2 separate regions of the Homo sapiens genome follow, and region 1 is linked to region 2. Evidence: promoter capture Hi-C in 16 types of primary human blood cells and fetal thymus (Javierre and others, 2016). All regions are on one chromosome and are shown on one strand. Each heading gives the region's core, a stretch centred on a gene start or on the middle of the fragment in contact. The rest is flanking DNA. Distances are from core to core; before and after follow the strand shown.

Region 1 (6,759 bases), core at 3,972-6,471, 890 kb before region 2:
CCAGCCCTGTCTCATTCAGATGGCCAGAGAAAGTCACATGGCTGGATCCAAAAGCTGAGGGGCAAAGAAATATACTCTGTTCATTGGATGAAAGGAAGTGCAAATATATACAGCAAAGGGCATGGATATAGGGAGAGATGAAGAACTAGGGCTGATCATGCAGTCTCCTACTCATTCTAAGCAGAGAATTTCAAAGCAAAGATAATTTGAAAAGCAGTTATGCAGTCAGATTATTTAGGATGTTTTCTGATATGTCAGTCACCATTCCACTCCCGACACATCTCATTTTTTTTTCCCACTCTTTCCCAGAGGTCAGAGTAATGGAGTAAATATTTGTAAATTTTTGCAAGAATATCTGTTAAGATAAGCCAAGAGTTTTAAAAATTACATGTGTGCCATAAACCAATCAAAAATCAGAAAGCAGCCTGAGTCCAAGCCCTTAAAAAGAAAATAGTTCTCTGCTGGTGTTCCTGGCCAGGCTCCCTGCATCGCTAAAGAGAACTCAGTAGCAGTCTAGGTAAGCTTCTGTTTCTCTTTCTGTTCCATCCAGGAGCTAGGACGTGCAGGGCATGTGATGGGCAAGCAGGTGCCACACAGCATCCCGTGCCAGGGCATTCCCAGCCGCTCTTCTGATGACTCTACCATGTGTGGGGAGGTCATGAAATACACATTACATGTGTATAAAAGTGTTTCGTTTTGTGCTGTGCAATTACAACTGTCCTAACACCCGTATTTCAATGCCTTTGTCGCAGGTACAAAGCCTGGTGATTTTGAATTGCAAGAGTTTGTGTGGGTGAAGTGGTAGCATCTGGCAAACTGGTGATGAGAATGATGTGTTCAGTTCACAGAACAAAGATTATTGACTCAATTTTAACCCCCCACCTCAGTTTCCAACCTTATACCTAAATATTGTATGGTTTTATCAAACCATGATCAAGTCTTTGTGAGGTCAAGGAATGCCTGCCCCGGGCTAGAAGGAATCCAGGCTGTTTCAGTGTGAGTTGGGACGCGTGGGCAGTGGAAGCTGATGGATAGAGTGTCCCCATTAGCTGATAGTGCTTTATGTTGTTTGCTTCTTACAGGGAAAACCTTAGCACTGGCAAGAACCATGGACATTCCCCGGTCTGTGCAGAACTTCAGGTTCTTCGCTTCCTCCAGCCTGCACCACACGTCAGAGTGCACGCAGATGGACCACCTGGGCTGCATGCACTACACGGTGCGGGCCCCGGTGGGAGTCGGTGAGTGCTGTTCAGTGAGAGCCCACCTCCCGGTTATGCTTGCAGATGCTCACAACATTCTATGGCATTGTCCTCAAGGAACAGGTTAAAGAAAAGGAAGAGCTGATATTTTTCTTTTCTAAAATCCATTGGCCTCAAAGATCTATTTCTAGTTTATTTTCTTTGTGTCAAATTCCCTGCTTTTCTTTTTAGACAGCGTCTTGCTCTGTCGCCCAGGCTGGAGTGCAGTGGCATGATCTCGGCTCACTGCAACCTCTGCTTCCCGGATTCTAGTGATTCTCTAGTCTCAGCCTCCTGAGTACCTGGGACCACAGGTGCGAGCTACCACACCGGCTAATTTTTGTGTTTTTAGTAGAAACAGGGTTTCACCCATGTTGGCCAGGCTGATCTCAAACTCCTGACCTCAAGTTATCCTCCCGCCTCGGCCTCCCCAAGTGCTGGGATTACAGGCGTGAGCCACCACGCCAGGCCTCATGTTCATGACTTATCTGGAAAATCATAGGGAAAAGAATGATGCTAAGAGTAAATATGTAAATTCACATGCCAGGATTTTTTTTTCTACTTATATTTAAAAAAGGAAAAATCAGGCTGGGCGCAGTGGCTCACGCCTGTAATCCCAGCACTTTGAGAGGCTGAGGCAGAAGGATCATCTGAGGTCAGGAATTCGATCAGCCTGGCCACCATGGTGAAACCCCGTCTCTACTAAAAATACAAAAATTCACCGGGCGCGGTGGCTCATGCCTGTAATACCAGCACTTTGGGAGGCCAAGATTGGCGGATCGCCTGAGGTCAGGAGTTCGAGACCAGCCTGGCCAACATGGCGAAACCCCATCTCTACTAAAAATACAAAAAGTTAGCTGGATGTGGTGGCGGGCACTTGTAATCCCAGCTACTTGGGAGGCTGAGGCAGGGAGAATTGCTTGAACCCAGGAGGCCGAGGTTGCAGTGAGCTGAGATTGTGCCATTGCACTCCAGCCTGGGCGACAAGAGTGAGACTCGGTCTCAAAAAAACAAAACAAAACAAAACAAAAAAACCCAGCCGGGCGTGGTGGCATGCATCTGTAGTCCCAGCTACTTGGGAGGCTGAGGCAGGAGAATCACTTGAACCTGGGAGTCGGAGGTTGCAGTGAGCTGAGATGGTGCCACTGCACTCCAGCCTGGGTGATAGATCGAGACTCTGTCTCAAAAGAAAAAAAAAAGAAAGAACTATTTATGTACATTAAATAAATTAATAAGTGTAGGGCATGTAGTATGGTGCCAGGTGTGTGATAAATAAGCCTCTACTGAGAATTATCTTACTTCATGCATTCCTTTGCCTCTTGACCTTTGGAAGAACGTATAAATAAATGTCTGTGATGACTAAAACCTTCCACCAGATGTCACTGTTTCCTCGGAGAAAAAAATCATCTTTTTAGCTTATTACATTTTATGAATATAAGCTAAAAGGAAAACAATTGGGACATCTCATTGCTTTGGTTACTTGAAACCTTCAGAAATTATGTTTTCAAGGCATTGTGGAAAGCTCTACCTCCTCCTAGGAAGTGTGCTAATATATTTTGCTGCAAAAATATTTTTATCCCCTAAAGAATGGATTTTTCAGTGGGAAATTTAATAATATAAAAGATGCATTTACTTTCATAGCACAGGCTTGAGGGAAGAGTATAAAATAAGGTGAATCAATTTCCTTTCAGAAGGTAGATTTTTATATTTGTTTGTTTTGTGATTGGAAACCTGGATAGGTTCAGAATATTGCATGGAGACACATTCTAGCTGCTGGTTACGTTACTCATCCAGCAAATCTATCTGGTCAGGATACAAGTGACAATCTAGAGAGAATTTTTATTTAAAAATATTCTAAATAGCCAAAATGGATGTCACAGTCCATGCACCAAAGGTTATTGGCTTTACTGATAGGAGGGCCCTCACATGGAACACTCAGAACTCATTGGCCCCTATTTTATGAATAATTATATAAAGCTTGAGATTTTATGTCTCAACCCATGACAGATTTGAAGTAAAGGTAAAGAAACATGTTAGAAGAAATAACAGCCAGACCGTTAAAATAATGGGGAAGGAGACATTTTTGAAAAAGTAAAGCTCAGTCTATAAATCTCAAAATGCGTCACATTCTGGAACTGTTTAGTGACAGGTGACAACTGTTTTTTTATTTTTTATTTTTTTTTGAAGTTCCAGGGTACACGTGCAGGACGTGCAGGTTTGTTACATAGGTAAACGTGTGCCATGGTGGTTTGCTGCACCTATCAACCCATCACCTAGCTATTAAGCCCAGCATGCATTTGCTCTTTATCCTAATGCTCTTCCCCCCGACTCTCCCCTGACAGGGCCTGCTGTGTGTTGTTCCTTTCCCTGTGTCCATGTGTTCTCATTGTTCAGCTCCCACTTATAAGTGAGAACATGCAGGTGTTTGGTTTTCTGTTTCTGTGTTACTTTGCTAAGGATAATGGCTTCCACCTTCATCCATGTGCCTGCAAAGGACATGATCTCGTTCCTTTTTATGGCTGCATTGTATTCCATTGTGTATATGTACCACATATTCTTATCCAATCCATTATTGATGAGCATTTGAGTTGATTCCATGTCTTTGCTATTGCTATTGTGAATAGCAAAGTGCTGCAATGAACATACGCGTGCATGTATCTTTATAATAGAATGATTTATATTTCTTTGGGTATATGATAGGTGACAACTCTTTAGCTCTGGAGTTTATATTGCTGTTGTTCATAATCATGAACTGCCAAGAAATGGGGAAATCATATTGACTTTACTCTGTTTTAAAAGATACAGTTGCTTGGAATATATTTTAGAATTATTTCCCTGAAAGTGGCTACAAATAAGCAAAGCTTGGGAAGAAGTTAGAAGAGTAAGCTAAGTTTTCTGCAGCATGAAGGAGTTTTGCGTTAATAACCCCACTTGGCCAGTCCACCTCAGAGGGGTATGCCGTCACAGGCAGTGCTTCTGCTCTCATCCCTTAGCTGGTCTGATCAGCCCCTGGAATTTGCCACTCTACTTGCTGACCTGGAAGATAGCTCCAGCGATGGCTGCAGGGAACACTGTGATAGCCAAGCCCAGTGAGCTGACTTCAGTGACTGCGTGGATGTTGTGCAAACTCCTGGATAAAGCAGGTAATTAGGTGTTGGGGTTGGGGGGCAGGCACAGAGTTGGAGCAAACCTATAGTTTATAGAAATCTTCCACTCAGCAGCACAATCGATTCCAGTGACATCATGGGCTTTGTCTTTCTGATCCTTGTCTGGGAAATCCCCTCCACCCACAGGGTTCCCTCACCCTGCTTCCTGTCTTCAACACCAGAACGGTGCTACTGCAGGCAAGTTCCACTCCCCAGGGTGGGCGACTGGCAGCACAATAGTGACGCAGACTTAAACAGCCCCATCAAATCAAAGACACCTGCCTGCTCCAGAGAGTCAATTAAAATCTTAAGTTGGGGCCAGGTGTGGTGGTTCACGCCTGTAATCCCAGCACTTTGGGAGGCTGAGGTGGGTGGATCACGAGGTCAGGAGATCGAGACCATCCTGGCTAATACGATGAAACCCCGTCTCTACTAAAAATACAAAAAATTAGCTGGGCGTGGTGGCGGGCGCCTGTAGTCCCAGCTACTTGGGAGACTGAGGCAGGAGAATGGCATGAACCCAGGAGGCGGAGCTTGCAGTGAGCCGAGATTGCACCACTGCACTCCAGCCTGGGCGACAGAGTGAGACTCCGTCTCAAAAAAATAAATTAAAAAATAAAATAATAATAATAATAATAAAATAAAATCTTGAATCACAAGTTAATCCTGATGACAATAAGAATATTGCTAGGTACACCTACAGTTTGCTTGGCTATAGAATACCTAGTAGAAGTAGCCCGATTTCAAGAGATCTAAATATACATCCTTCAGTTTTTCCTGCCTTTGGGACTGCTACTGGAAAGCTAATACAATATGGCCTCTTCCTAGCATATCAAGGTTCACACGTTTGCTCCTTGTTCTTTTTCTGCTAATAGTTTATTGGCCGCATTCAGGATGCGCTCCTGGTTTTGTTCTGGGCTGTAGCTCCGCACAGGCACAGGCTGGCACTGTTTGAAGGCAGCAGGCAGGAGACCCCAGCAGCCCTCCTGTGAGAAGTCCCCTTAATGTGAGGTCTTTTTGCTATGTCACCCCACGGCCAGGGCAGGAGTGCTGGGTGGGGGAGACAGACTCACTGTCTTTCTAGTTGGTCTCCTTGCTGCCTTTCAGCCCATAGAGAGGCACTGCTGGGCTCTCCTGTATCCACAGAATGCCCGGTGGGTAAGAGTCCGTCCCTCTCTCCCGCTTCGGAACACCTTTCTTAGAAGCACAGACATACACATTAACTTCCAGTAAACCCTAGCCAGTTCTTTACTCCACGAGGAAGATGAAGGCTCAAAACTGAGGCTGTTTAGGGAACGGCACTGGGCCTTACGATCCCAGGGTCCTCCAGAGGAATGAGGCCTCCCAGCCTAGGACTCTGATTTGTCATCTATGGAGCTCCCAGGCTTCGAGGTGGAGGGGGTGGGGCGGGGTATATCATTTAAATGTGCCGACCCTTCCCATGTTCCTCCCCTACAAAAGACCTCACAGTCTAATCCCATTCTTTGTAAAATGAGGTCTGTGGTGTCTGCAAAGGCGCGACATACTTCTTCCCTGCCTGGTGACTGCAGGTTCCCCAGAGTGGACTAGGCCTGGGGCTTGCCCTCTACTGGGATTTGGAGGCAGGGGTGGCGTGCAGAGCCGTGTTCCCTTAACCACTCTCTCCTGAGACCAAGAACGTCTGGATAGATGATGAGTTATCTTTCCCAGCCAGTCTGCCCTGAACCTGGCCTGCATGACAGTTTCTGTTTCCATCTCTGCACAGCATTGATTTTATTTCTTGGGAACTAGTAAGCCCATTAAACTAAGACAGCCCTTCTCCTCTTTCCTCCATGGGCTGAAACTTCCTCCCCTGACAAATATAGAGGGGGTCATGTTCACCTTGCTCCTCTCTTGAGCCCTCAGTTTCTCCACTGGGATTGGAAGGAATGCGAACCACATCTGTGTCATCTGCTTTAGAGCAACGTAAGAGAAGCTTTTAGTAGGGGAGGGAAAAGCGAAAATAACTAATTCGTTCTGGATGTTTAAAGAGTTAGCTCCTCTAGTCCTGGGCATTTAAACAGACTTGACAGATAAACTTCCTTTAAAATAAACTCATTTTTAAGATGACACAGTGAATACTTCTGTGGGATTCCTGGAATAGTCATTTCTTCTTGGAAATTTGCCCTCATTCCTGGAGTGCCCACTGACTGCGTTTTCCTGGCCCTTCCCATTAGGTGTGTGTGTGGAGCAGGAGATGTGTGTGTGTAGGTGGGTGTGTGTGTGTGCTCTATTTAAGCCTAAAATTTTTCTTGTTGCCACCCTGCCAAGCCCCTACATTTGAGGGGTTTCCTTCTAGTCTGTTCTCGTCTGTTCCTAACTTGTCTGTTAGCCACCTCCCCTGAGTTTTGCTAAAT
Region 2 (6,751 bases), core at 551-3,050:
ATGGGGCCAAGAAGCTGCTAGAAACACAGGTTGTGGGATCACGAAACAAAGCAATGATACAACTAACCCATTGCAAGAACATTTTCCCCCTAATGAGGTCATTGGTTCTGAGCAGAAAGAAGTTAGAAGCCAAGAGAATATAGAGAACTTATGGGAAACATATGTGTCTCACAGATAGAAACTGGGACTCCTATATAATTATAATGCACCCTGGGAACAAATAAAATGAGTTGTTTCAAACCATGGTTGCGTTACACATTCTTTAGTGGGGACACTGATGTGTGGGATTCTGAACTTCTCACCCTCTTAATCATAAGGGGCCTGGATTATGCCTGGAGGACTTCCATTTTCTAGCACTATCAGCAGACATACAACGGGTACATAATAAAGACTAGTTGAATTATTATAGGTTTGTTTCCATTTGCTACCTGTTTCCCTGAAAGATAAGAAAAATATAGAATTATTTAATGACAAGCAAAGGAAATGTACAAATAAGTGAATTTAGAACTTTGAAGTGATTCAGTTAAAATGTTGAAAAGAAGTAACAAAAATTTAGCTTCTGCTTATACAAGCACAAATTTGTTTTTCTGTCCAGAGAAATGCCTATGACTAAAAGCCATATTTCACGGCATCTTCTTAAAGTCGAGTAGGTCTGAAACCATAGGAAGCCAAGAAAATTAGAGAAGGACAAGGCTGGGAAGTTAGAATATAGGAGAGTTACAGCTTTAGACCTCCTGGATTCATAATCTCAGCTCTACCACTGATTAGCTGTGAGACTGTAGCCAAGTTACCCAACCTCCATTTCCTCTTCTATAATGTTGGTACCTGCCTCAAAGTCATCATCTGCGTTATTGCGCTTAGCACAATTTCTGGCACATAAGTGCTCCACACATGTTAGTTTTTATTCCAAATGATTTTTAAGATGATCTCAATTTCCTCTATAAGGCTTTTTTTTTTAATAAACATGATTTGTTGAATGAATAACTGAAGGTAAAATGTCATAACCCTGTAAGACTTTTTTATAAATATGTTCACAAATCAGAAAAAGATCCTCTCTCATGACCTGATTTTGTTTGAGATTACATGTCCACCACACGCACACAATGGGCCACTTAGTCTGGCCTCTCTGAGTGAGGAGTATCCTCCTCCTACCTACGCAAACATGAAACCTAACAGAGGATTCAGTGTTAATTTGTCTCTTAAAGACAATTCTGCATTAAGAAATGGATTACTTTGCTATAACCTCAGCATATAAAAAGTCTAAAGAATCTGTGCATTCTGAGTTTGTGTATTTTTGGTCTCAGGCTGTGATTTATCTGAAAGGCCTTGGAGAGAAAGATATAGGCCTTTACCTAGACCAAAATCAGGTTGAAACAATAAAGGTATTTTATGCTTTGTGTAAGCTGGTAAATACCATGACTTTTGGAATAACAGTCTTGCTGAAAAATTGACACACTTTTCCTTCTGGTATGTCTTTGCATAAATTGTTCCTCTTTCTGCAAGATTAACTGATACCATCTGTGAGTATTCTATCCCCACTCTCAGCTTGCATTTAAATCTGCATGTTTCCTTTCTCTGCCTCTTTTCAAAGGTGCTAGAATACAAGAGCTACCCTTAGCTAATGGCCAAACACTCCGTCTGAGTTCCCTTTCTTTTAACCCCTTGCTTCCAACTCTGCATCTAAAGGCAAAAACAATCCTCTGACTCACGGCCCTCCCCCTGCCTGTGATAGGCTGCTTGGAATAGCAACAGCCTGTGTCACCGAAAAGGGCAAAGCCTTCGGAAATAGAAACAAAGTTGGTCACAAATCACATTAGCTTTGCCCGAAGTTTTTCCCCACACTCTTCTTTAGCATGCTATTATGGGGAAAGTGACCACTCCTGGGAGCGGGGGTGGTCGGGGCGGTTTGGTGGCGGGGAAGCGGCTGTAACTTCTACGTGACCATGGTACCTGTTGAAAACACCGAGGGCCCCAGTCTGCTGAACCAGAAGGGGACAGCCGTGGAGACGGAGGGCAGCGGCAGCCGGCATCCTCCCTGGGCGAGAGGTAAAGTGAGCCTGCAGTGCTCGGGTGACCGCAGAGAAGCAAGCTGTACTCATCTCCCGAGTGTACTGTCTCTTGAGTCCCGTGTGTGTGTGTGTGTGTGTGTGTGTGTGTGTGTGTGTGTGTGTGTATGCGCGCGCGCGCATGTGGGCGCGCTGGATGAGTGGAGAGAAGGGGACAGGGTCTGGTGGGACGTGGGACAGCTCGGAGCTGTAATGTTGTGAAGATCGAAGTCTTGGTGGAACCTTATGTGCCAAGAAAATACAGGTTACACATCCACCACTGGTATGATGGGTCCCCTTGATTGTGTTTACATAATACAATGTATGGATGTTTTTCATATTGGAACGGTCCACTGGCAAAGATAGTCTCATTTGTAAACACACACAAGCACACGCTTGCTTACACTTTTTCATTTATTGTCACAAATGGACACTGTGTAACCAGTTGACATTATAACCACTGTTTTAAAAATCAGTATTTTAAACAGGCTTCATAAAATTATTAGTTATGTAATCAATGAGAACACAAACTTCCTTTTTAAATTCCCAGCACGTTTGTGATGAATTTGAGCGTTATTCAGAGCCTGAAACGCTTGCTTTGCTGGGTTCTGCCTTCTTTAAAACTGGCCTTGCAAACTGAGGTTTGTTTGCTATGATGACCTTCTGAAGGTGAAATTTGGAAAAGTTTTAATTCATTTAATGATCTTTGATAAATCAGAGGCTGGTCTTCACTTCCACATTTACAATTCCCACAAATACATTGTACGCTTTTTGCTGCCTCTTCCTGCTCATTTAGTTTGTGCTGCAAGGAATAGAAAGTAATTGTAATATGAAATGACAACAAACACAAAAAATCTTCTCTTTCCTACTACTTTCCTCAGCTGTGTATTCTTAATCAGATATTACATTCCCAAGCAGCATATAGAAATTTCATGCAAAATCCAATACACTAAATGATACAAAAGACATCTGCCTTTCTCTTGGGAATGGTCCTAATACTGACGTTTGCCTTGTGGGTTTGTCTGATCTTGGGGAATCGAACCTGTGACCCCTAACATCGAGGCATGAAGCGGCCCTCTTCAGGAGTGGAGAAGCCCTCCATCTTCCATGTCCTGATCTCTTCTCTTGCTTTCACACTTCTCGTCAAGAATGAGGCCGGGCGTGGTGGCTCATGCCTGTAATCTCAGCACTTTGGGAGGCCAAGGTGGGCAGATCACTTGAGGCCAGGAGTTCAAGACAAGCCTGGCCAACAGAGCGGAAACCCTATCTCTACTAAAAATACAGAAAAATAAAAAAATTAGCTGAGCATAGTGGCACATGCCTGTAATCTCAGCTACTCAGGAGGCTGAGGTACAAGAATCACTTGGAGGTTACAGTGAGCTGAGATCATGACACTGCACTCCAGCCTGGGTGACAGAGTGAAACTCTGTCTAACATAATAATAATAATAATAATAAAAGAATATCTGGGGTCATCTTTCAATATGGCCTGTCCTCTCCTATGCAGAAGTACCCTTTTCCCTAAGCGCTTGCTACTCATTGGCCCACAAGTTCCCTAAGAGCAGGCAAGGGAAACTTATATTTGGAGATAAAGGGAAAGAGTTGCAAAGTTCTTTTCTCCAAATTCCTGGGAACATGAGCTGCAGTCTAGACTGCAGAGCAAGCTGAGGTGGTGATGTTAACAAAAGGGCTCACTAAATACAGTCAGTGATAATGTCACAAAGAAGATGAAAAGAAACTGCCTAGGAAGAGCCTTTGTAGTAACCATTAAAAATGGACTGTTTATTTTGATATGGCTTTGAAGGTACAATGTGCTCTTAATAGCTTATATTGTACAAATTCACAATTATCCAGAAGAAAGATAATGTGTATTTACATTTGCAATAGTTGGTTACATGCACAAAATTCAACTTAAAGTGCAACTGTTTATGTTGTAAAGAAATAATAAATGAATAAGTACCATAAATTATCTTTCAAATTTAATTTTAAATTAACTTTCATTTTGTAGAAGAGAAAGCCTGAATGTTTCCTTAAAATGTCAGATGAATACAACTTTGATTTGTGCTATACATAATCTGCATTTAGATGAATGCAAACCTTTTATTTTCTACTTTTGTAAATTTTCTTAACTTATCTTAAACATCTTTTGGCACCCAAAAGCAATTATACATACATATGTATAAATGAATGCATAGTGCAGACTTGCTGTATGGTTTTCTTAAGTTACTTAAAGTCTCCATTCATTAATATTGGGATTGTATCTTCATCTATTTTATGAAGGTGTTGAGATTTAATGAGGTAATATTTGTCAAATACTCCTTTTGGCTTCTTCATATTTTCAACTTCCATAGTTTTCATTTAAGACATTCAGAGTATTTAAATTATGCTCAACAATTATCACAATATGTCTGCATTTGAAGGTAGCAAGCTTTTCTACATTCCTAGATGGAAAAATCAAAGCACAAAGAGGAATGAGTTATATAACTCAGGACAAGGTAATTAAATCATGTGAGATACTGAAAAACAAAACAAAACCAACCCCCTAAGGTCTGCAGTTGAACTCCCTTGATGCTATTGTGCACAGTGAAAAATTTTGGTAGGTCTTTCTTGACTAACCCTCTTTAACTGAAAAGAATGCTTTGTTCCAATGACTAGAAGCTAATGAACTTAATTCATTTTCAATAAGCTATGACTCAAAGTGGTTACATTTTTAGTAAATTTTTTCAGCTTTCATGGACATGTTCCAATCCATCTTAATATAGGACAGGATTAAGCTCAGTTTGAAATTCTGGTGCCTAGAGTTGACAACAGATATAAATGAAGTGAGATATTAGACGGATGGAGCAACTCACACAAGGGAAATCTGAGGTCAAAAGATGTGTGATCGGCCCACGGTCACACAGAGGATGGTGCAGAACTGACCCTGGTGGCCTCTGGCCCAGGAGATTCAATACTGACTTCTACTTCAGCTCCCAGGCTTCCTTTATTTCATGATCCAAACAATTGGCTGGGGACAGAGTCCTCTTAAGTTTCCCTTCACCCCCAACTGTCCAAAGGTTCAGAAAACAAGAACAATATTTACTGTATGAGTGCAGGTTGTCAGCACTGCAGAACTCTCTGGCACTGGGACCCAGAACATGAAGAACGGGACTCACGAACTCAGCTGAAAGGACTGTCCTTTATCCCCTCTGAAGATGCCACAGTCTGGAATTTAAGAAATACACGCTTCTGCTCAGCAGATGAACATTCTAAGGCAGTTGTTCTCAAAACGCTTTTAAAGCTGTGAACTCCTTTTTCCTAAATGGAAGCTGGGCAGGTGGTGAGTATGTAAGATGTAACTGTAACTAAGTTCCTACTGAGTGCTGTTCTCCCGGGTTTAGCTTAAAATGGGCCCCCTGGAATTTCGTCAGGCCTGGCTTTCTCAGGCTTCGTCAGTCAGCTCTAGGGGAAGTCAACTTGTAAAAGAGACGGAGACTTGGAAACAAACTCATCCTTAGGGAAGAGGGAGTCAGGCCAACCAGCTTGGGCAGATGTCAGAGCTTTGGTTGTGAGAAGACAGATTCTAGTAAGAGGCCAGTTACCTTGGGCAGACCCAGGCATCTCAGAGTTTTTGATGCTGGGCCATTCCCATTTTTCCACACTTTCTATATATTAAAAACAATTAAGCATCAAAACCCGTGACAAAAATTATAGTGCTTTAAAAACATATGTATTTAACAAGTCAACATCTGATAACAATGATTGTGTCTACTGTGATACGTATTTCCAAGGAAATAACAGGTTTTTTTGTTGTTGTTGTTTTGTTTTTTCTGAGATGAAGTCTCGCTCTGTCACCTAGGCTGGAGTAAGATGGCGCGATCTTGGCTCACTGCAACCTCTGCCTCCCAGTTTCAAGTGATTTTTGTGCCTCAGCATCCTGAGCAGCTGGCTAATTTTTGTATTTTTAGTAGAGATGGGGTTTTACCATGCTGGCCAGGCTGGTCTCCAACTCCTAACCTCAGGTGATCCGCCTACCTTGGCCTCCCAAACTGCTGGGATTACGGGTGTGATCCACAGTGCCTGGCTGGAAATGACAGGATTTTTAGACGTGTTCATTTATGGAGGACCACTTGCTCTTCTGTGTGGTCATGAGACCAGATTTAAACATAAATATCTCCCCTTTCAGTCCAGTCAGCGTATCTCTGTGACTGTACATTTAACCTCACTTGGAAATCACATCAAAAGTCTAGATTTGAGGCTTTTCACCACTGTGAGCACTGGGCAAATGGCTCCTCTGGGATCTCTTGGGAAGGGAAAAGGCTGCGAACATGGTGGGAGATGTTTCTCTGCAAACTCTGGGTGCTATGCATCGTACGCGGCAGTGGTCTTGCTCCTCTCTAAGGATGTGTCACCCAGAGAGAGCAGAGAGGTTGCCACAGACCCCCTCCCAGGCTCTGAAGCAGCAGCAGACACACGCTGCAGGAAGCCTGCCCTGCCAGGGCCTGGCAGAGCCAGACCAAGCCAGCCTGAGAGCAGCCGGCCAAGAGGTTGGGCCCATCTGAGCAGGCTGAGATTAGCTGGTGCACACCAGCATGCCTGAACCAGTTTTTACAGCCATTCTGATAGGTCGGTGCCTCTGTCCTAGTTGTTAAATATTCTCAACATCACCGTTCTCTCTGTCAGATTACCAACAGTTGCTGAAGCAGCTGAGAGCCCAGGAATAGGCCT

Evidence for each region. The method cuts DNA at HindIII sites, captures the fragments that hold promoters and counts their contacts. A CHiCAGO score of 5 or more calls a contact.
Region 1: a fragment that was not itself captured here is called in contact with the fragment with the promoter of SLC2A12 in region 2 in 5 of 17 cell types (M1 macrophages, M0 macrophages, non-activated CD4 T cells and 2 more); the score reaches 7.5 in M1 macrophages.

Annotation. Positions count from the first base shown.
Region 1 is chr6:134,936,888-134,943,646 of GRCh38, reverse strand. It overlaps ALDH8A1 (aldehyde dehydrogenase 8 family member A1), which reads left to right. Exons shown (of 7, transcript NM_022568.4): 3 at 1,083-1,238; 4 at 4,232-4,381. Among named protein-coding and RNA genes, the nearest start is that of ALDH8A1, 9.8 kb to the left of the region's middle. The HindIII fragment of the contact is 2,239 bases long and covers 4,102-6,340 here.
Region 2 is chr6:134,047,673-134,054,423 of GRCh38, reverse strand. SLC2A12 (solute carrier family 2 member 12) reads left to right here and starts at 1,800. Exons shown (of 5, transcript NM_145176.3): 1 at 1,800-2,046. The coding sequence starts at 1,944. The HindIII fragment of the contact is 5,616 bases long and covers 1-4,474 here.